Linked DNA regions of Homo sapiens: regions 1, 3, 4, 5, 6 and 7 are each linked to region 2. Evidence: promoter capture Hi-C in 16 types of primary human blood cells and fetal thymus (Javierre and others, 2016). All regions are on one chromosome and are shown on one strand. The core of a region is centred on a gene start or on the middle of the fragment in contact, and the rest is flanking DNA. Distances in the headings are between cores, read along the strand shown.

Region 1 (2,700 bases), core at 107-2,606, 400 kb before region 2:
CCCAGGCTCAAGCAATCCTCCTGCCTCGGCCTCCCAAAGTATTGGGGTTACAGGTGTGAGCCACCGTGCCTAGCCAGAACACCCAAATTTTATACAAGCAAAGGAAAGACAACAAACCCTGCATCTGTGGTCTGAGAGCGCCTGGCATCCAACTTAGAACCTAATAGATCACCTAGTCGTTCTCAGGAATATGAGAGGCTTAGGAATGTGATCTAGCCAAATGGCTGCCCCTCTTTCAGCCTGAGTCCCTTCTGCAATAATCCTATCATATGCTTCTGGCGCTGGTGATAGGGATGAGCTCAGGGTTTAGGCACACAGCTCAGGATGTATACGGAGGCTACACTGCTGCCATTCGCAGACTGAATAACTGAGCTTTTGAGCTCAAAGTGGTCTGGGCTATTTATGGGTAACTTTCAGGGGCTGCAGGGAGGAACAAACCAATAAATAAAACATCCATGCATTCATCCAATAAACTTTTTTTTTTTTGAGATGGGAGTCTCGCTCTGTTGCCCAGGCTGGAGTGCAGTGGCACGATCTCAGCTCACTGCAACCTCCGCCTCCCAGGTTCAAGCTATTCTCCTGCCTCAGCCTCCGGAGTAGCTGGCATTACAGGCGCACACCAACACGCCCAGCTAATTTTTGTATTTTTAGTAGAGATGGGATTTCACCATGTCGGTCAGGCTGGTCTCGAAATCCTGACCTCGTGATGTGCCTGCCTCGGCCTCCCAAAGTGCTGAGATTACAGGCATGAACCACCGCGCCCGGCCTCCAATAAACATTTATTGGGCACCTACGGTGTTCCAGGCGCTGGTCTAGGCGTTGGGGTTACAACAACGCACAAAACATAAATTCTGAAGCTGACACGCTAGCTTTAAACGTTCCTTAAATATCTTCATCCTCAATTTACGGTTGAGGAAACTGAGGTGTAGCGAGACCTTGGAGGTTTCCGAAATATTATTATGGATGGCAGGTGTAGAGCCCTGCCAACCTCTCGATCCTGAAGCTCCCCTTCCAGCCTGAGAAACGGCAGGTTCAAGTCCCACTGGGAGACCAAAGCGGGGAGCGGCTCAGTTTGCCGGCTTGCTCAATGGGTAAGGCGTGATGGCTCTAAGCAGGCCTCAGTTGTCTCGTCCAGAGCAATGGGCAGCGACGCCTGCCCAACCCCTCCTGAGCGCCCAGCCTCCCTTTCCCGGCCGGCCCCGCCCCCGCGATCACGTGACGCGTGGGGGTTTTCCCGTTCCCCAGGCGTGACGTCACGGCGGGGTGCAGACCAATGGGCGCGCAGGCCGGCGGCGCCGGGGAATTCCGCCGCCCCGCCCCCGCCCGCCGCCCGCCCGGCCCGGCCCCGCGCCCCGCGCAGCCCCGGGCGCCGCGCGTCCTGCCCGGCCTGCGGCCCCAGCCCTTGCGCCGCTCGTCCGACCCGCGATCGTCCACCAGACCGTGCCTCCCGGCCGCCCGGCCGGCCCGCGTGCATGCTTCGGTCTGGGCCAGCCTCTGGGCCGTCCGTCCCCACTGGCCGGGCCATGCCGAGTCGCCGCGTCGCCAGACCGCCGGCTGCGCCGGAGCTGGGGGCCTTAGGTAAGCGGGGCTGGGGTTCAGGAGAGGGGTCTGGGGCGGGGCTGGAGATGCGGGGATTCTGGCGGTCCCGGAGTAGTCTGGGGGTTCCTATGGGAGTCTAAGGGTTTCGCGGGGGCAGAGTGAGGGTTCCTGAGACACTGTATTAGGGCGTAGGAAGAAGGCAGAGGGTGATGAGGGGGTACGGCCCGAGGTTCGAGCGAGGCGTCCCGCTGTAGAGTGAGAGGGGGCGGGGCCTGACCCTGAGGCAAAGAAGGGGGCGTGGCCTGACTCAGAGAAGGCGGAGCGAAAGCTGCTCTTGGGCGGTATCGGGGCGGGGCCGGGCCCAGAGAGGGAGAAGAGGGGCGGGATCCGACCCGGACTATGAGAAGAGGGCCGGGCCTGACTCAAAAAAGGAAGCAGGGCCCTACGCTGAGGGGTGAGGGGGCGGGGCCTGGCCGTGAGGGCAGGAAGGGGGCGGGGCCTGAGTTGGCCGAAAGAAGGGGAAGGGGCGGGGCCTGACTCTGGCCGAGTGGAGGGGAAGGGCCTGTTACCCAAAAAAGCAGGGCGGGGCCCGACACAGAGAATGAGGAGGGGGTGGGGCTTGCCTCCAGACGGAGAAGCGGAGCCTTGACATTGAAAAAATTAAAAGTGGTCTGACCCTGACAGGAGGATGTTTTTTTTTGTTTGTTTTTTGTTTTTTTCTTTTGAGATGGAGTCTCGCTCTGTCGCCCAGGCTGGAGTGCAGTGGCACGATCTAGGCTCACTGCAACCTCTGCCTCCCGGGCTCAAGCAGTTCTCCTGCCTCAGCCCCCCGAGTAGCTGGAATTACAGGTGCCCGCCACCACACCCGGCTAATTTTTGTAGTTTTACTAGAGACGGGGTTTCACCATGCTGGTCAGACTGGCCTCGAACTTCTGACCTCAGGTGATCCGCACGCCTCGGCCTCTCAAAGTGCTGGGATTACAGGTGTGAGCCCTTGTGCCCAGCGGGATGGGGACTTTTTAAACTGAGATTGAGATGGGGTCCCCTCCAGGCCCAACTTTAAGGGAGAAAAGGAGCGGGCCCTGAGTGTGATGAAGGGTGGGGCGAACCACAGAAACTAAAGGCCAGGACCTGTCCATGATTTAGCTGGTAAGCCTGGCC
Region 2 (2,700 bases), core at 192-2,691:
AGATTCCTCTAGACAATGCGAGCTTTCCTACCTACCTACCTACCAGCTCTGAGCTTGGTACACCCAGAGCCCTGTTTTGGCAACCACGGTTATTATTTTTAATTTCATTTCAGGTTATCATCAAATGCCCTTCAAGCCCAGACATTGGGAAACACTCCTCTCTCATCAGATGCTCGCCTCCCCCATTCTGTTTTTAATCCCCCTTCTTAGGACGCATGGGGGTGGAGAGAACGGGGAGATAGACAGAGGGAGGTGCCTGGTCCTGCCCTCCCCCCGCCTCAAGGACAGACAGACACCTCCAGAATTAGCCTCTGTCCCTCCCTTATCTCCCACAATACCCCAGGTCAGACAGATGGGCGTGGAGGTGACATTTCTCACCTCAGGGTCAGGGCAAGGAGCCCTGAGGCAGAAGGTTAGTCAGAAAATCTGGCGGGGGCGGATGGAATCCCGTCCCCCAGAGAGCTGCAGAAGAAGGAGGAGGCAGAATCCTGACCCTACAAACTCTACTGCCTGTGTGAGCTCCAAGCCTCAGTTTACCCCTTCCTCTCCGTGTAATGGTTAAATGCCCGGCTATGCAAACCTCCCAGAATCCAATAGCCGCTTTCCGGAATTCTGCCCTGGGTTCTAGAACTACCTCTGCAAACCCAGCTGTTTCCCACCCCATAAGGCAATAGGGGAGCCCACCTCCGCCAGGGGGTGCCCTAGGGCGGATGTCCCTTCTCTGGTTAGGCAGGTCTGACGCCCAGGTTAATGACATGTTGGGTTCGCTCAGCGGCACAGAGGAGGTTGGAGATCTGCCTCGGTGTTTTCTCTCCTACCCCGCCCCCATCCCCGAGCCGAAAAGTCGGGGGAGAGCCGGGACACAGCCTCCGGAGGGACCCCGGGTACCTGTCCTGCTCCACTTCAGGAACCCAGGCTCCACTATCCCTGCCCCACCCTTAATTCTGCTCAGAGACCTAGAAGATCGGTCGAGACAGCAGCTTGAGGCTGGCAGGGTGGTCACCCATTCCACCTTGAGCCCCACCAGTCTGAGCCTCTCATTTCTGACCAAGACTCGGGGATTCGAACCCCTATACTACCCAAAGACTCGGCTTCCTAGAGCCCCCCAGTTCGAGGGACTCAGGAATTCCAGCTCCAACGTCTCCCCGGGATGAAGGGGTAGAATCCCTCCATTCCAAGAATTCAGGCATCCGAACCCGCTTTCCTTCCCTCCAGTAAAACAGGCAACGGAGTTTCCTTCTAAGGATCCAGGTGTCGGCGCGCCCCAAATTCCGCCCTGGGACCTGGCGTCCGAGTCCCCTCCCAATCCTCCCAGGGACGCGGGTGTTGGGCTTTTTCAGGGCCTCTGGTCCCCAGGAGGGTGAAACTCACGGATCCGGGCAGATCCTGGCACCTGGGGGCTTCCTCCAGCTCGGGCTCCGGCTTGGGGAGCGGAGAACGGGGCGGGGCAGGAGCTGGGAACAGGTTAGACGACGTGACTTGGGCTGGAGGGAGGCGGGTCCCGGTGGGGAGGGGGAGCCAAGGTCGCCTCGAGCACCTTGGGACTTGTAGTCCCGGAGGGACAGGACGTAGCCCAAGACGATCCCATTTGGATTCACCCAGAGTCCATTTCACAGACAGGAAGGGCGAGGCCCAGAAGCCGAGAGCGACCAGGCCAGGGAGATACAGAAGAGCCGAGACGCCTGCCTCGCTGTGGCTGGAGACTGACTCCTGAGCCCTTGCCCCACCCCTTCAGGCGCACTATCCCCTTTCCTGATCAGTATCCCCCAGGGTCTCTGAGCCCGAATCTCCCCGTCGATAAAAAGCGCGGGTTGGATCTTCAAAGGATGTCCCAGCAAGAGTTCAAAATCTTAGTTTGGACTACAACCCCCAGCAGCCTCCGCGACCGCCCTCGGGCGACTCTTTGCCTCGGGTCCTGTGGGAATTGTAGTCCTGGAGCCCGCAGGGGCTGCACCCCGGTGTCTCTCTCGCCCACGCGAAGGAAACCGTCTGGAGATCCTGGATAGGGGAAACATTTCCCCTTCCCCTTGACCCTCCCTCCGCTCTGGAAAGCCTCTCCCACCTGGGGAGAAGGGGTGCCCCAATTCTGGAGTAGGATCCTAAATCTTGGCAGAGGGGGCGGGAAGTGGCGCTGACACACTGGCCAGGAATGCAGTCGGGTCACCCTGTCTAGCCACCGTCTCGCGGCTCCAACCGCCGCCCAACGCGGGGCGGCCCCAGTGGGAAGGGAAGTGGGTGCGTCCCCCAAATCTGTGTCCACGTGCCGCTGTTTACACGCTCCCTGGGGCAGGGAGGAGTCGCCGATCAGGTCCCTTCCTGAAAGTCATCGAGGTTTCCCACGCATGAGACTAAACCCCCGAGGGCATCTACAAGTCCCATTTGATCCACAAACGCTACACCGTGCCCAGCACCACTCCACGCGTGTGGGGCTCCTGGGTCCGAGGCTCCGCCCTCGAGAACCACAAGCTCCTCCCCCTATGTTTCCCGCTCCCCCGGAGTCCAGAAGCCCCGCCCCTGGCTGGAACTTCACGCCCTCCGGACGGATTGCCCCTATTTCTCCATTTTCCCGCTTCTCCCAGTCAAGTTCTGAACTTGTGAGGCATCTGGGCCTCCCCAGAAGACATTTAACACAGAAAGCACAGCCCTACTAACTAGTATTCTTACCTGTCTCTTCAAGAATTTCAGACCAATCGACCGTCC
Region 3 (2,700 bases), core at 116-2,615, 490 kb before region 2:
AGGTAGCCAGCCAAAGGGGGTGAGGCCCGGTGGAAGGGAAGAAGGGACATACACGCAGAGCTTTGCAGCTGAGGGTTTTAATTTTTTGAGATGGGGTCTCTGTCCCACCAGGCTGGAGTGCAGTGGCACAATCACAGCTCACTGCAGCCTCGAACTCCTGGGCTCAAGCAATCTTCCTACCTCAGCCTCTTGAGTAGCTGGGACTACAGGCATGCGCCACCACGCTCGGCTAATTTTTGAACTTTTTTGTAGAGATGAGGTCTCCCTATATTGCCCAGGCTGGTCTCGAACTCCCAGGCTCAAGTGATCCTCCCTCTTCAGCTTCCCAAAGTGCTGGGATTACAGGCATGAGCCACCATGCCTGGCTAATGCAGGTGAGGTTTTTGCAGTGTCATCCAGCTAAGGCGACCCGTTCCCCTCCCAAAAAAGGGAGACTGAGAACCATGAAGTTAAGAGCCCAGAGAATATCACGGTGGTCTGGGGTGCTTCAAGGGCTGGTCTGGAATAAATTGGAGGTGGCACGCAGGGTAGGAGCGCCGGGCCAACTGGGAGACCCAGCAACATAAAGGAAAAGTTGTTGGGGCTGAGGAGGCTTGCTGAGAGAGGGGAAGTGAGGGAAAGAGGTGATCTAGGGACACGGTGTGAATGAGGGGGGGATGAGATCACAGGGTTATTACTGGGAGACCCCTGAGGGAAGATGGCCACAGGGACAGGACAAGGCTGTCTTCTTAAGGGAGGAGACCACCCCTCATATTGTCTTATGCCCAATTTCTGCCTCCAAAGAAAGAAAAAGTAAAAACTAAAAGGCAGAAATGAAATCCACAAGCAGACAGCCCGCGCCACACCCTGGGCCTGGTGGTTAAAGATTGACCCCTGACCTAATCCGTTAGGTTATCTATAGATTACAGACATTGTATAGAAAAGCACTGTGAAAATCCCTATTCTGTTTTGTTCCGATCTAATTACCGGTGCATGCAGCCCCCAGTCACGCATCCCCTGCTTGTTCAATCGATCACGACCCTCTCACGTGCACCCACTTAGAGTTGTGAGCCCTTAAAAGGAACAGGGATTGCTCACTCGGGGAGCTCGGCTCTTGAGACAGGAATCTTGCCCATTCCCCGAACGAATAAACCCCTTCCTTAACTCAGCGTCTGAGGAATTTTGTCTGCGGCTCCTCCTGCTACATTCTGAGTGGGGAAAGGGACTAAGGTGGTCTGAGGACCCCACAGAGTCAGGAAGATTGAGAGGTGAGAGTGCTGAACGGGGAGGGGCTTTGGGGCTAAGGGAAGTGCCCGGGACCCCACCTGACCCCAACGCTCACGGGACAGGGGCAGAGGAGAAAAACGTGGGTGGACAGAGGGAGGCAGGCGGTCAGGGGAAGGCTCAGGAGGAGGGAGATCAACATCAACCTGCCCCGCCCCCTCCCCAGCCTGATAAAGGTCCTGCGGGCAGGACAGGACCTCCCAACCAAGCCCTCCAGCAAGGATTCAGGTTGGTGCTGAGTGCCTGGGAGGGACACCCGCCTACACTCTGCAAGAAACTCAAAAAGGGAGATGAGGGGATCGTGGGAGGGAGGTAGGGAGGGAGGAGGGTGCCACTGATCCCCTGAACCCCTGCCTCTGCCTCCAGAGTGCCCCTCCGGCCTCGCCATGAGGCTCTTCCTGTCGCTCCCGGTCCTGGTGGTGGTTCTGTCGATCGTCTTGGAAGGTAAAAGTGGGATGGGAGAATTGCGGAGTTGGAGATTTGGAAGAGTGAAGGTGGCTACAGGCCTGGGGTCCCGGCTTAGAGGACCTCTGAGAGCTCCGGGGCCCCTTCTGGGTCGTGGTTGCCTCATCGTGGTCGGGTGGGTCTCCAGGTTCTCCCAGGCTCAGTCCCGCAGGCGCCAAATCTGCGCAGGAGAGCACTAGCAACCGATGACGTATTGAGGCCCACACCTCTGGGATTGGCTGTCCTGCTTCGACAGCCTTGAAAGTGGGTAAGCTGGGTGGGGGGCTCTGGGAGAGGTCAGTGCTGAGTAAGGCAATTCCCAGCAGCTTGAGCCCCACCAGGTCACTCCAGTATTCCTCCCCATTCTTTTTTTTTTTTTTTTTTTTTCTCTTGAGACGGAGTCTCGCTCTGTCGCCGAGGCTGGAGTGCAGTGGCGCGATCTCGGCTCACTGCAAGCTCCGCCTCCCTGGTTCACGCCATTCTCCTGCCTCAGCAGGACTACAGGCGCCCGCCACCGCGCCCGGCTAATTTTTTGTATTTTCAGTAGAGACAGGGTTTCACCGTGGTCTCGATCTCCTGACTTTGTGATCCGCCTGCCTCGACCTCCCAAAGTGCTGGGATTACAGGCGTGAGCCACCGCGTCCGGCCATTCCTCCCCATTCTAACCACATGATCCCCAAGGATCTCTATCCATCCCGGTATCCCAACCTAAGGGGGTTCCAATAACAAATTTTTGGCCGGGCAGGGTGGCTCATGCCTGTAATCCCAGCACTTTGGGAGGCCGAGGCGGGCAGATCACTTGAGGTCAGGAGTTCGAAACCAGCCTGGCCAACATGGTGAAACTTCGTCTCTACTAAAAATACAAAAAAATTAGCCAGGTGTGGAGGCACGCGCCTGTAGGCCCAGCTACTCGGGAGGCTGAGGCAGGAGAATCACTTGAACCCGGGAGGCGGAGGTTGCAGTGAGCCGAGATCATACCACTGCACTCCAGCC
Region 4 (2,700 bases), core at 1-2,500, 360 kb before region 2:
AATAAATAAATAAAATAAAAAAGATAAAAAGATAAAGCATCCAAGCTCTTCCCTTCTCCGCTCTCCCACTTCTTCCTCGGGATCCCGCCCCTCTCGACTCTAGGACCCGCCTCTCTCGTCGGCGGAAGTGCGCTGCGCGGCCCTCCACCATGCTCCGCCCCCTCCCCCTAGCGCGGCCTTTCATTTCCGCTTCCGGTGCGGGCCGCGCGCGAGCGCAGCGGTGGGAGGCGGCGACCAGCCGGTGAGTGCAGGCTGCGGCTCGACCTCCCGGTTTTCGGGCAGGCCTCAGCCCAGCTTCTCCCTTTCCTCAGGCTCTCCCCATGCTGCTGTGGGCTTCTGCTGCGTCCCGGCCCCGAGGATCGCTCGTCCCTCACCCCATTAGGCCTGACGGGCCTCAGGCCGAGCCCGTGCCCCGGCTGTGGGCCAGAAGTTGCCGCGTCGAACTCGGCCTTCGGCCCAGCAGCTTATCACAGGCCCCGCCCCCTTGTCAAAAAAAAAAACAACAAAAAAAAAACCCAGCCCAAATCCTCAGGCCGCGACGCGATCCACAAGCCCCGTCCAAACCTTCGGTCTCCGCCCTTTCCCGCAAGCCCTGCCCCCAAGCTCAGCCCACGCCCTCCTGTCAGCCAGCTCCGCCTCTCTCAGGCTCTACGCTCTTTTTCTTTGGATGCTCTCCCCACCCCGCCATCTAGATCCCATCTTTAGACCTCAGCTTCACTCTGGTCTCCTTGCAACACTCCCTCCCCGTGTTCCCACTCCCTCTAGCATCTTCATCTTCCGCCACGCCCTTCACCTGTCCTCGACCTCCACCTTCATACAACTGCACTGTTCCCTTAAAAGCTTTCTCCGATTTCCTCCACCTGCCTTCATCCTTATTCTCCTTATCCCTCTACCACCCAGACTCATACCCAACCCCACGCATGGCCCCTAGTGGGAGCCTTTTCAGTTCTTCTCTTTCTCTTGAGCTCCAGCCTTAAGTGCTCAGGGTTTGCCTTCTGACCCTACTTCAAACACTGCTGATGTTTCAAAACCTTTCATTCCCGACTCCAGCGCGTGGAATCTAGGACACCCCTTTCCCAGTGATGCTCACCTCAGAATCACCTGAGGGTTTTTCAGAATGCCCAAGCTTCTAGATCGAAGTTGTTAGGGATGGACTTGAACATCTGGCATACTGTTCTGCAGCTTCACTTCTGCTCCCTGAAGCTAAGAGATGTGTTGTTTGGGATCGACTCTGCCACCAACTTGTTAGATGACTTTGATTCTGCCCATACGGGTTTCACAGACCATCTGACTTTCCTGGTCCCTTCATCCCTCAGGTTGAGGCCCCAGGCTTGGCCTCACCACAATGTGGCACGAGGCTCGGAAGCATGAGCGGAAGCTTCGAGGCATGATGGTCGACTACAAGAAGAGGGCGGAGCGGAGACGGGAGTATTATGAAAAGATCGTGAGTAACTGGCCTTTTGTCTGGGGTGAGGGACCCTGGGTTGGGGGGCACAGCTGGTCATCCTGGTAAAATCTGGGCTTGGAAGTATGTCAAGACAAGAGGCTCATTTCCTCAGGAGTATATTCATTAATCTTTTCTTGAGGATAATCATTGGTGGGATCCCAAGGGCTTCTGTTTGTTGTAGCATACTGTGTCGTTTGGTGTGGCCTCCCAGTGCCGATCCGGTGTTAGCAAGAAAAAGGGAAGTCTCTGTAACCCTCAGAGCAGTCCTGACGTTAGACTGGCCACCTCCAGAATGTCTGTTTCGCTTATTGCTGTGTTCCCCATTCCCAGAAGAGCTCAGCCACTCTTGAGATTTGGCTTGGCACACAATAGGAGTGAGTATTAAGTTGGCCTGGCACAGTGGCTCACGCCTGTAATCCCAAGTGGATCACCTGAGGTCACGAGTTCGAGACCAGCCTGGCCAAAAGGGTGAAACCCCATCTCTACTAAAGATACAAAAATTAGCCAGGCTTAGTGGTGTGTGCATGTAGTCCCAGCTACTTGGGAGGCTGACGCACGAGAATTGCTTGAGCCCGGGAGGAGGAGGCTGTAGTGCATGGAGATTGTGCCACTGAACTCCAGCCTGGGTGACAGAGCAAGACTCAACGCCTGTAATCCCAGCACTTTGGGAGGCCGAGGTGGACAGATCACAAGGTCAAGAGATCGAGACCGTCCTGGCTAACACGGTGAAACCCCATCTCTATTAAAATACAAAAAATTAGCCAGGTGAGGTGGCGGGTGCCTGTAGTCCCAGCTACTCGGGAGGCTGAGGCAGGAGAATGGTGTGAACCGGGGAGGGGGGCAGAGCGGAGCCTGCAGTGAGCTGAGATAGCACCATTGCACTCCAGCCTGGGCGACAGCGAGACTCTGTCTCAAAAAAAAAAAAAAAAAGACTGTCTCAAAAAAAAAGGAGTGAATATTAAGTGAAACCTGACCACTTCCCTCTCCTGTCTGATGCTTCAGTTGTTTTTGCGGGGAAGACCAAACTATCCCTGGCCTAAAAGACCCTTGTGGTCTGACCACTCAGCTTCATACTCGGACAGCTCCACTGGCCTTCTATTTCTGCCACCACAGGGCTTTGGCCTATATTACCCCCCCTCACCTATTTAACTCCTGTGTATCCTTGGGATCCCAGCTTGAAATGGCACCTGTTTTCTAGGTTCAGTGTTCCTGTCAGATGACATTTATATAGACCTTTCCCAGTTATTCCTGTA
Region 5 (2,700 bases), core at 19-2,518, 310 kb before region 2:
TACCGCTCATGGGCTCATATTTATTTTAGCATTGTAATTTAAGTTGTATTTTATGCAACTCTACCCCGATACAGAGAGCTGTTGATGTAACTGCAGCGAGCAAATGGAGGACTAGAGACTAGCGAAGGGGCCGAGACTTCGTCTCCAGAGTATCCCTGTCAGCATCCATCAACTGCACTCATATATTGAATGCAGCTCCTATCCGCCTTTCTTTTCGACTTCTTCATGCCGTTACCACTCTTCATCAGTTAGTCTAGCCTCAATGTTTTCATTTATTTCCTTTGTTTTTTTTGGGGGGGGGGGAACGGAGTCTTGCTCTGTCGCCCAGGCTGGAGTGCAGTGGCACGATCTCGGCTCACTAAAAGCTCCGCCTCCCGGGTTCACACCATTCTCGTGCCTCAGGCTCCCGAGTAGCTGGGACTACAGGCGCCCGCCACCACGCCCGGCTAATTTTTTGTATTTTTAGTAGAGACGGGGTTTCACCGTGTTAGCCAGGATGGTCTCGATCTCCTAACCTCGTGATCCGCCCGTGTCGGCCTTCCAAAGTGCTGGGATTACAGGCGTGAGCCACCGCGCCCGGCCCATTTCTTTCCTTTCGTTGAGACAGGGTCTGGCTCTGTCTACCAGGTCGGAGTGCAGGGGCGCGATCATAGCTCAGTGCAGCCTCAACCTACCGGGCTCAAGCGATCTTCCCACCTCCCAAGTAGCTGGAACTACAGGCTCCTGTAACCAGACCCTGCTAATTTTTAAATTTTTTGTAAAGACGGGGCCTTGCTATGTTGCCCAGGCTGGTCTCGAACTCCTGGACTCAAGCGATCTTCCCGCCTCAGCCTTCCAAAGTGCTGGGATTATAGGCGTGTGCCGCCGCGCCCCGCCAGGTGTTTTCAGTTCTATGCACTCCATTCCCTGGGCTCTTGACGAATGTGCGGGAGCTGAATATTCGTTATTTGGACTCCGGCAGGAAGGCGTGGGCTCAGCTTCGCGCTTGCGCGCTGCTCTTGGAGACGGCGTCTACTTCGCCCCGCCCCTCATAGTCTGCAGTTCCGGCTCTGCAGATTCGCTGCTCACGTTTCTTTTTTCCGTGGCCCTTCCTGCCCTTTGTTTCTCTCTTCATGTCACCCGCGGGACAACTCTACGTGCAAGTCGCTGAAATCGATTTTCTGCTTCTTATAGTAAGCGGCGGGCTCGCCAGCCTCGAGCGAAAGTGTGACTGCGAACGGGCAGGCGCGCGCGGGGCTCGGCGGAGGCGCGCTTGGGCTCCCGGCGGCGACGACTACGACCACTAGGAGAGCGGACGGAGGCGGCGCCTGAAGCGGCGGCGGAGCCCATGCCCCGGGACGGCGGGCGGACCCGGAGAGACAAATCCGGGGCCCGGGGCATGTCCCCGGGGCCCCCGTGAGGAGGCGGCGGCGGCTATGGAGATCGCGCCGCAGGAGGCGCCGCCCGTGCCGGGCGCGGACGGCGACATTGAAGAGGCCCCAGCTGAGGCCGGGTCTCCCAGCCCCGCGTCGCCCCCCGCCGATGGGCGCCTCAAGGCTGCAGCCAAGCGCGTCACATTCCCGTCCGACGAGGATATCGTGTCTGGAGCAGTGGAGCCCAAAGACCCCTGGAGACATGGTAGCTACCGCGGGTGAAGCGGGGGCGGGCTCGAGAGGGACCCGGGAGTCGGGAGGGATCGGTGCAGGGCCCGGCTCGAGGTGGCGTTCAATAGATTGCACCTAATGGTGAATAAGGGGACAGTCGTCAGTTTAGAACCGTAGTCTGTTAGAAAGGGGGTGGCTATGGAGTTGGGAAGGTGAAAAGTATCTGGTTTCTGCCGCACCCCACCCACCCGAGACAAAGATGGTGATCGTTTTAGGGTTTAAAACGATGAGCAATTAAAGAAAGTTTGGTGTTTTGTCAGATGTAGAGTGTGGCAGCCTTTGCGTTCGTAGTTCCACCAGAGAAGGAGAGAAGGAGCAGTTGAGAGGAGGAGCGGGTCAACACTGGGCCTGAAAGGGCAGTTGAAAGAGTTTGATGGGTCTATGGGGGTAAAAAGAGGTTAAGTTGCTGGTCTGCAAGCCTTGGGGCAAGGAGTGGTCGTGTTGGCCACTTTCTTGGCTGGAAAGAGGGAGACTATAAACTTGGACTGTGGCTATAGAGGACTTGGTAAAAAGGAGTCAAGATAAGGTCCCAGAAGAGGAGCAGAGGTGGTGGTCAATTTGTGGTTGGGTGAGGGAGAAAGAGGCAGTGTGGTTTTTATGTTTTCTTTTTTATTGAGACAAGGTCTCACTACATTGCCCAGGCTGGTCTCGGACTTCTGGGTTCAAGCTGTCCTCCCTCCTTGGCCTCCCAGAGTGTTGGGATTACAGGTGTGAGCCACCGCCGCCTGCTGCAATGTGGTATTAAGAAGAAAAGCCAACGCCTACCGCCGCCTCCTCCTCCAAAAAAAAGAGAAGCAGAAGGAAGGCTGTCAGTCATTCAGGAGCAGAGGATGTTTGGGACATGGCTACGGAAGGGTCCTCTTGTTCCTTCCTGAGAAAGAATTGGGGGATGGCCGGGTGCATTGGCTCAGGCGTGTAATCCCAGCACTTTGGGAGGCCAAGGTGGGTGGATCACCTGAGGTCAGGAGTTTAAAACCAGCCTGGCCAACATGGGGAAACCCCGTCTCTACTAAAAATACAGAAATTGGCCGGGCATAGTGGTGCACACCTGTAATCC
Region 6 (2,700 bases), core at 201-2,700, 450 kb before region 2:
ATCTCGCTATGTCACCAAGGCTGGTCTTAAACTCCTAGGCTCAAGCGATCCTTCTGCCTCAGCCTCCCAGAGTGCTAGGATTACAGGCATGAGCCACGAAGCCTGGACGGAATGGCAGAATTTATTTGGTCACTCCACAGAGCATAGGAAGGCTCTGCAGGGAACCTGCCTCCACAGGAGCCCTGTCCAAGGTCACACTTCTCATGAGAAGCTTAGACCTCATCATGCTCCAACACATTGGCCCTTGCAGTGTATGAGACTTGGAGAGCAGATTGCAGCAGTTTGTATTTATAGCTGAGAGCGCAGTTGGGGTTGCAGTGAGGCTGGAGAAAGTTTCAAAGCCCCTCACTTGCCTGGGCTTTCCATGGTCCTCTACCTAAATTTGTACAAGTCATTTTGTACTTTTTTTTTTTCAAGACAGAGTCTCCCTTTTCTTGCCCAGGCTGGAGTGCGATGGCATGATCTCGGCTCACCACAACCTCCGCTTCCCAGGTTCAAGCGATTCTCCTGCCTTGGCCTCCCAAGTAGCTGGGATTACAGGCATGTACCACCATGCCCAGCTAATTTTGTACTTTTAGTAGAGATGGGGTTTCTCCATTTTGGTCAGGCTGGTCTCGAACTCCCGACCTCAGGTGATCCACCAGCCTCTGCCTCCCAAAGTGCTGGGATTACAGTGTGAGCCACCACACCCAGCCAATTTTGTACTTTTTAAAAGAGGCCAGGCCAGGCGCGGTGGCTCATGCCTGTACTCCCAGCACTTTGGGAGACAGAGGCAGGCGGATCACGAGGTCAGGAGATCAAGACCATCCTGGCTAACACGGTGAAACCCCGTCTCTACTAAAAATACAAAAAATTAGCTGGGCGTGGTGGTGGGCGCCTGTAGTCCCAGCTACTCCGGAGGCTGAGACAGGAGAATGGTGTGAACCCAGGAGGCGGAGCTTGCATTGAGCTGAGATCATGCCACTGCACTCCAGCCTGGGTGACAGAGCAAGACTCCATCTCAAAAAAAAAAAAAAAAAGAGGCCCACAAAACACATAAGCTTCAGACCCCACAAAGTCTCTCCTCAATCCCTGTCTTAGTCTATTCACTTCATCCCTGGACTTAAAAGACTGGGCCTACACATTCAAAGAATCGTTATTAACACCATTATTGTCTGTAACAGTGAGGATGAGGCACTGAGTTTTCTTTTTCTTTTCTTTCTTCTTTTTTGGAGGTGGAGTCTTGCTCTGTTGCCCAGGCCGGAATTCAGTGGCATGATCTTGGCTCACTGCAACCTCTGCCTCCCGGGTTCAAGCAATTCTCCTGCCTCAGCCTCCCGAGTAGCTGGAGTTACAGACGTCCGCCACCATGCCCGGCTAATTTTTGTATTTTTAGTAGAGACGGGGTTTCACAATGTTGGCCAGGCTGGTCTTGAACTCCCGACCTCAGGTGATCCGCCTGCCTCGGCCTCCCAAAGTGCTGGGATTACAGGCGTGAGCCACCGCGCCTGGCTGAGGAGCGAAGTTTTCTAAGGTTCCTTCTTGTCCTGTGTTAGCCCTCAGAGAGGTAAGTCACTCACCTTCTGCACCTAGAGAGCCTCATCCCCAGGGCAATCATCCCCAGGGCAGTGCTGGAGATACAGCAGTGACCACAACAGTCCCAGGTCAGCCTGCCCAGTTGGGGAGACACACCCATCCCTGACAGTGATGACACAAAGTGAGCAGGGATGGGGTGGAGGAGCTGAGGGGGCAAGGGAGGATAGGAAAAGGGCTCAGAGAGAGTTTCCTAGAGCGAGAGCTACTGTTACAGGGCTGAGACCTAGAGGAAAGTGGAGGAAACCGATAATAAAATGATAATTATATATTCAGAATATCCCAATGCAAAGCTTACTCTTTTTCCAGGTAATATATAAGGTTCATAATCACAGCGCTCCAAATATTGACCACTTAAGCATGAGGCCCAGGGCCTGATGTTTTCCATTCGCCATCTAACTACGTCTTCCCAATAACACAGCGGGGCAAAACGGGAAGACGAAGAACGAGTACGATTATATCCCTGGTTTATAAAAGGGGAGAAACTGAGGCTCAAACATAGATGTCACTTGTCACCAGCCTGGCCAACACGGTGAAACTCCGTCTCTACTTACAAAAAAAAAAAAAAAATGGGAGGCTGACGCAGGAGAATTGCTTGAATCCGGGAGGCAGAGGTTGCAGTGAGCCGAGATCGCGCCACTGCACTCCAGCCTGGGTGACAGAGCGAGACTCCGTCTCAAAAAAAAAAAAAAAATTAGCCAGGAGTGGTGGCGTGCTCCTGTAATCCCAGCTACTCGGGAGGCCGAGGATGCAGTGAGCCGAGGTTGCAGTGAGCCGAGATCGCGCCATTGCACTCCAGCCTGGGGGAGAGTGAGGCTCCGTCTAAAAAAGAAAAAAAAAGAGAGAGAGAGACGTCACTTGTCCAGGATATCTTATCCAGTCAGTAGCACCACAAGGGTTAGAACCCTGGCCAGACATCCACCCAATTTCACGGGTGAACAGTTAACAGCCTCTGAGAGTCTTGTCCTCTCTGGGCCTCCGTAACACCCTCTCCAAACTAAGGGTCTCTCAGCAGATGGCCGGGTTTAGAGCTGTACGAAGACACACAGCTAATGAAAAATTGTGGAATTCTCAGAGCCCGTGAAGCCTAGCCCACGGATGCGAGGTTTGGACCACTGAGGGAACGCG
Region 7 (2,700 bases), core at 168-2,667, 380 kb after region 2:
GCCTCCACCTTCCCATCTGTGAAATGGGAGGAGGAGGGAAAGGAACCAGGCCTGGGTCAGAAAGAGATGGACACAAGAGGAAGCAGGGGAAGGCGGAGAAACAGGAAACAAGTGTCACACACAGTTTGTTACACACAGGCCAAAAACCAAACACCAGTCACTGAGGGCCAGACATATGAGGGCCAGAGGGGCAGGGTGCTGGGAATGAAAGAAACCAGTGACCAGTGAGCCCGAGTCCTGGGCTTGGGGAGGAGGTGGGCAGACAAGGCAGCTGGCAGAAGCGGAAGCATCCTCCTTCCAGCCCTGGCCCCAGGCCCTGGAAAGCCCTTGCAAGAAGGGGTTTTGTGGGACAGCTGGAAGGTTGGAGGCCCTGGGCCAGGAGAACTAAAGGACGCAGGGACCCGGGGTGGCGGGAATGGTGGCTGACCCACACGGCTCATAGGAACCGAGACTTTGGGGCTGGGGGTGGGGGTGGGTGCAGAACCTACAAAAGAAGGAGACACACCCAGAAGAACCCAAAGTTGTCCCTCCTGGATCGCAGAGGAGGGGGCACTGGTGGCGCCTGTCTGCAAAGCTGGTTCTCCCACAGGGCCCGCGTGAGTCACCGCCCTCCCAGTGCCTGGGCACCTGTTGGGGCAGCTGGAGAGGCTGGCGCCGAACACCTGCCTGTCGGCTGCGCCCCTGGCAGCTGCCCCATGCTGGCCCTCCTGGCTTGCCCCAGGCCACAGGAAACCAGGGGAGAGGGCCATAGAGCCCACTTTTGGGGGGAGGGTCCTAGGAGAGGGAGCTCCCAGCATGACCCTGACCCTGACCCTGAGGCGGGGTGCAGAGAGGCCATGGGAGGCTGTTGGCAGCCTAGCCTGCTGTGACTCCTAAGCCATGGCTCTGAGTCACAGCCACCCTAGCCTCTGCTGACCTTACTCTGCCCCTCCAGAGTGGTGGCATAGGACAGAGAAATGTTGCCCCAGGGCCCAGGTCCACACTCTGAGCCCCAGGATGGGAGGATCTCCCCATGCCCATCCTGCCATCCTGCCCCCCCAACAGCCAGGCCTCTGTGCCCAGACCTGTCTCCTGCCCCACCCCCACCCCATCTGCAGGAGCCCCGAGGGTAGGCACTCACCCCACTGCAAGAAGTCGGCCACGTACTTGTCCTGGGCCAGTTCGGAGGCGCCCAGCTCCTGGTGGACGCCCAGGAGAAGGTCGAGCAGGGGCTCCAGCCCCAGGAAGCCCGGGTCCAACACCAGCTGCTGGAGCCGCCTCAGCCGCACCTCGGCTGACATGTTGGACAGGCAGCACCATGGCCCCTCCCCGGGCCGGGGGCTCGGGGTCCTCCTGTCACAGGGCCTGGCAGCCCCTGTCCAGGCCCTGGAGCCCTGGCTGCATGTCTGCCTGTCCCTGGCTGTCCCCTGGGCCTCTCTGGCCACTTCTCTCTGCGGCCGGCCGAGGCCTCCTCCCCTTCTCCCCACCCCTTGGTCCAGCCCCCCTCCCGCCTCCCAGCCTTAACCCCTCACAAGCCAGCCCCCCAAGCTCCCTCCTTCCAGGGCCCTTCAGAACCCTTCAGTGCTAGAGTAGGGGGAATGCATGGAGAATCTCAGCTGTCACACTGTCACCCCAATAAAAAGGTAGAGCACAGAGGAAGCCACAGGTGTGATGAATTTCAAGAAGAACCTGCCCATTGCTGAAACAGGGCCAATTGAGGCTGAGTGACCCAGTAGCAACCACCCCCTTGCTCCCGACAAGCTCCAGAACTGGGGGCTAGGGGGTGAGGGCTGGGGGTTGGGGCTGGGTGGGAGAAAGGGGTTGAGGCCTGGGAAGGGGACGGGAGGCCAGGGCAGCTTCTTGGGTGACTCAGAGATGGATTCCGACTCGGACAGTTAAATTTAGCCCTCAGGCTCTCTGCTTTATACCAGCTTTTTTTTTTTTTTTTTTTTTTTTTCCCAGGAGGTGGGGAAGGGGTGGTGAGGACAGGACCAGGAGGGGGCACCCTCAGAGCCTGAACAGGGGTGACCTGCTGCCCAAAGGCTGGGGGAGGAAAGTGGTGGAGCCAAGCCCTCCCTGGGCAAACGAGACCCCAAAATAGCTCCTTGGCCCCTGGCCGGGGAGCCACATTCCTGCCCAGGCTGGGATTAGAAACAGAAACATTTCGGGGGGTGGAGGGTGGCGCGGGAAGACACACTCCCTGCGGCTCCGAGAGCCAAGAGGAATCTGAGCTCTTCTTTCCAGGGTGGACGGTTCTCCAGAGTGGAAGTCGGGGCCTCCAACCGGCCTGGGGTGCCTGGGCCTTGAGAGGGCCAGGCCTGAGAAACTAGGAGGCAAGGACCGAGGAGTCCCAGCTGGGCAGGGCCTGGGAAACGTGGTCCTGGGCAGTTCTGATAATTTAAAAAACACCGAGGACTTTGATGAGGGGCCCTGGCTGCGGGCAGGATGCTCTTCTCCCCAAGAGGGTCCTGCTCCAGCCGCTGGTGTGGGTCACCAGTTGTGTGACTCGCAGGTCCGTTCCCTCCCTGGGCTCCGGCTTTTCCTGCTATGAAAAGGGGTGGGAGGCGCTGGGCTGGGAGCAGGCCTGCACTCCTCCTCTGGGGAAAGCGGACTGCCTAGAACCACAGAGTACACACACAGGTCCTCTACATCATCTCCTCCGAAGGGGACAGACCCGCTGAGAAAACAGGGAACTTTAGTATAAATAAGAGGTCCTGCGGG

Evidence for each region. The method cuts DNA at HindIII sites, captures the fragments that hold promoters and counts their contacts. A CHiCAGO score of 5 or more calls a contact.
Region 1: the fragment with the promoter of RELB here is called in contact with the fragment with the promoter of PPP1R13L in region 2 in 1 of 17 cell types (M2 macrophages); the score reaches 5.7 in M2 macrophages.
Region 3: the fragment with the promoter of APOC1 here is called in contact with the fragment with the promoter of PPP1R13L in region 2 in 3 of 17 cell types (total B cells, M2 macrophages and total CD8 T cells); the score reaches 5.4 in total B cells.
Region 4: a fragment that was not itself captured here is called in contact with the fragment with the promoter of PPP1R13L in region 2 in 1 of 17 cell types (naive CD4 T cells); the score reaches 5.2 in naive CD4 T cells.
Region 5: a contact is called between the fragment with the promoter of PPP1R37 here and the fragment with the promoter of PPP1R13L in region 2, in 4 of 17 cell types (erythroblasts, M1 macrophages, M2 macrophages and 1 more). The highest score is 6.6, in erythroblasts.
Region 6: a fragment that was not itself captured here is called in contact with the fragment with the promoter of PPP1R13L in region 2 in 1 of 17 cell types (activated CD4 T cells); the score reaches 5.4 in activated CD4 T cells.
Region 7: the fragment with the promoter of DMPK here is called in contact with the fragment with the promoter of PPP1R13L in region 2 in 2 of 17 cell types (total B cells and naive B cells); the score reaches 7.3 in total B cells.

The regions. Positions count from the first base shown.
Region 1 is chr19:45,000,108-45,002,807 of GRCh38, forward strand. RELB (RELB proto-oncogene, NF-kB subunit) reads left to right here and starts at 1,357. Exons shown (of 12, transcript NM_006509.4): 1 at 1,357-1,578. The coding sequence starts at 1,473. RefSeq lists silencers at 1,181-1,590, 1,911-2,190. The HindIII fragment of the contact is 31,053 bases long and covers 1-2,700 here.
Region 2 is chr19:45,403,628-45,406,327 of GRCh38, forward strand. PPP1R13L (protein phosphatase 1 regulatory subunit 13 like) reads right to left here and starts at 1,442. Exons shown (of 13, transcript NM_006663.4): 1 at 1,372-1,442. RefSeq lists enhancers at 1,328-2,123, 2,094-2,293. The HindIII fragment of the contact is 7,528 bases long and covers 1-2,700 here.
Region 3 is chr19:44,913,243-44,915,942 of GRCh38, forward strand. It overlaps APOC1 (apolipoprotein C1), which reads left to right and starts at 1,366. Exons shown (of 4, transcript NM_001645.5): 1 at 1,366-1,491; 2 at 1,630-1,707. The coding sequence starts at 1,650. RefSeq lists enhancers at 1-161, 920-1,679, 1,680-2,437 and a promoter at 379-1,505. The HindIII fragment of the contact is 4,871 bases long and covers 1-2,700 here.
Region 4 is chr19:45,038,868-45,041,567 of GRCh38, forward strand. CLASRP (CLK4 associating serine/arginine rich protein) reads left to right here and starts at 178. Exons shown (of 21, transcript NM_007056.3): 1 at 178-241; 2 at 1,317-1,444. The coding sequence starts at 1,346. RefSeq lists an enhancer at 1-721. The HindIII fragment of the contact is 252 bases long and covers 1,125-1,376 here.
Region 5 is chr19:45,091,911-45,094,610 of GRCh38, forward strand. It overlaps PPP1R37 (protein phosphatase 1 regulatory subunit 37), which reads left to right and starts at 1,269. Exons shown (of 13, transcript NM_019121.2): 1 at 1,269-1,617. The coding sequence starts at 1,416. RefSeq lists an enhancer at 872-921 and a silencer at 1,342-1,551. The HindIII fragment of the contact is 14,988 bases long and covers 1-2,700 here.
Region 6 is chr19:44,952,025-44,954,724 of GRCh38, forward strand. It overlaps a transcript of CLPTM1 not described here. Among named protein-coding and RNA genes, the nearest start is that of CLPTM1, 2.0 kb to the right of the region's middle. The HindIII fragment of the contact is 825 bases long and covers 1,039-1,863 here.
Region 7 is chr19:45,781,073-45,783,772 of GRCh38, forward strand. It overlaps DMPK (DM1 protein kinase), which reads right to left and starts at 1,418. Exons shown (of 15, transcript NM_004409.5): 1 at 1,121-1,418. The coding sequence starts at 1,280. DMWD (DM1 locus, WD repeat containing) reads right to left here. Exons shown (of 5, transcript NM_004943.2): 5 at 1,875-2,700. The HindIII fragment of the contact is 10,590 bases long and covers 1-2,700 here.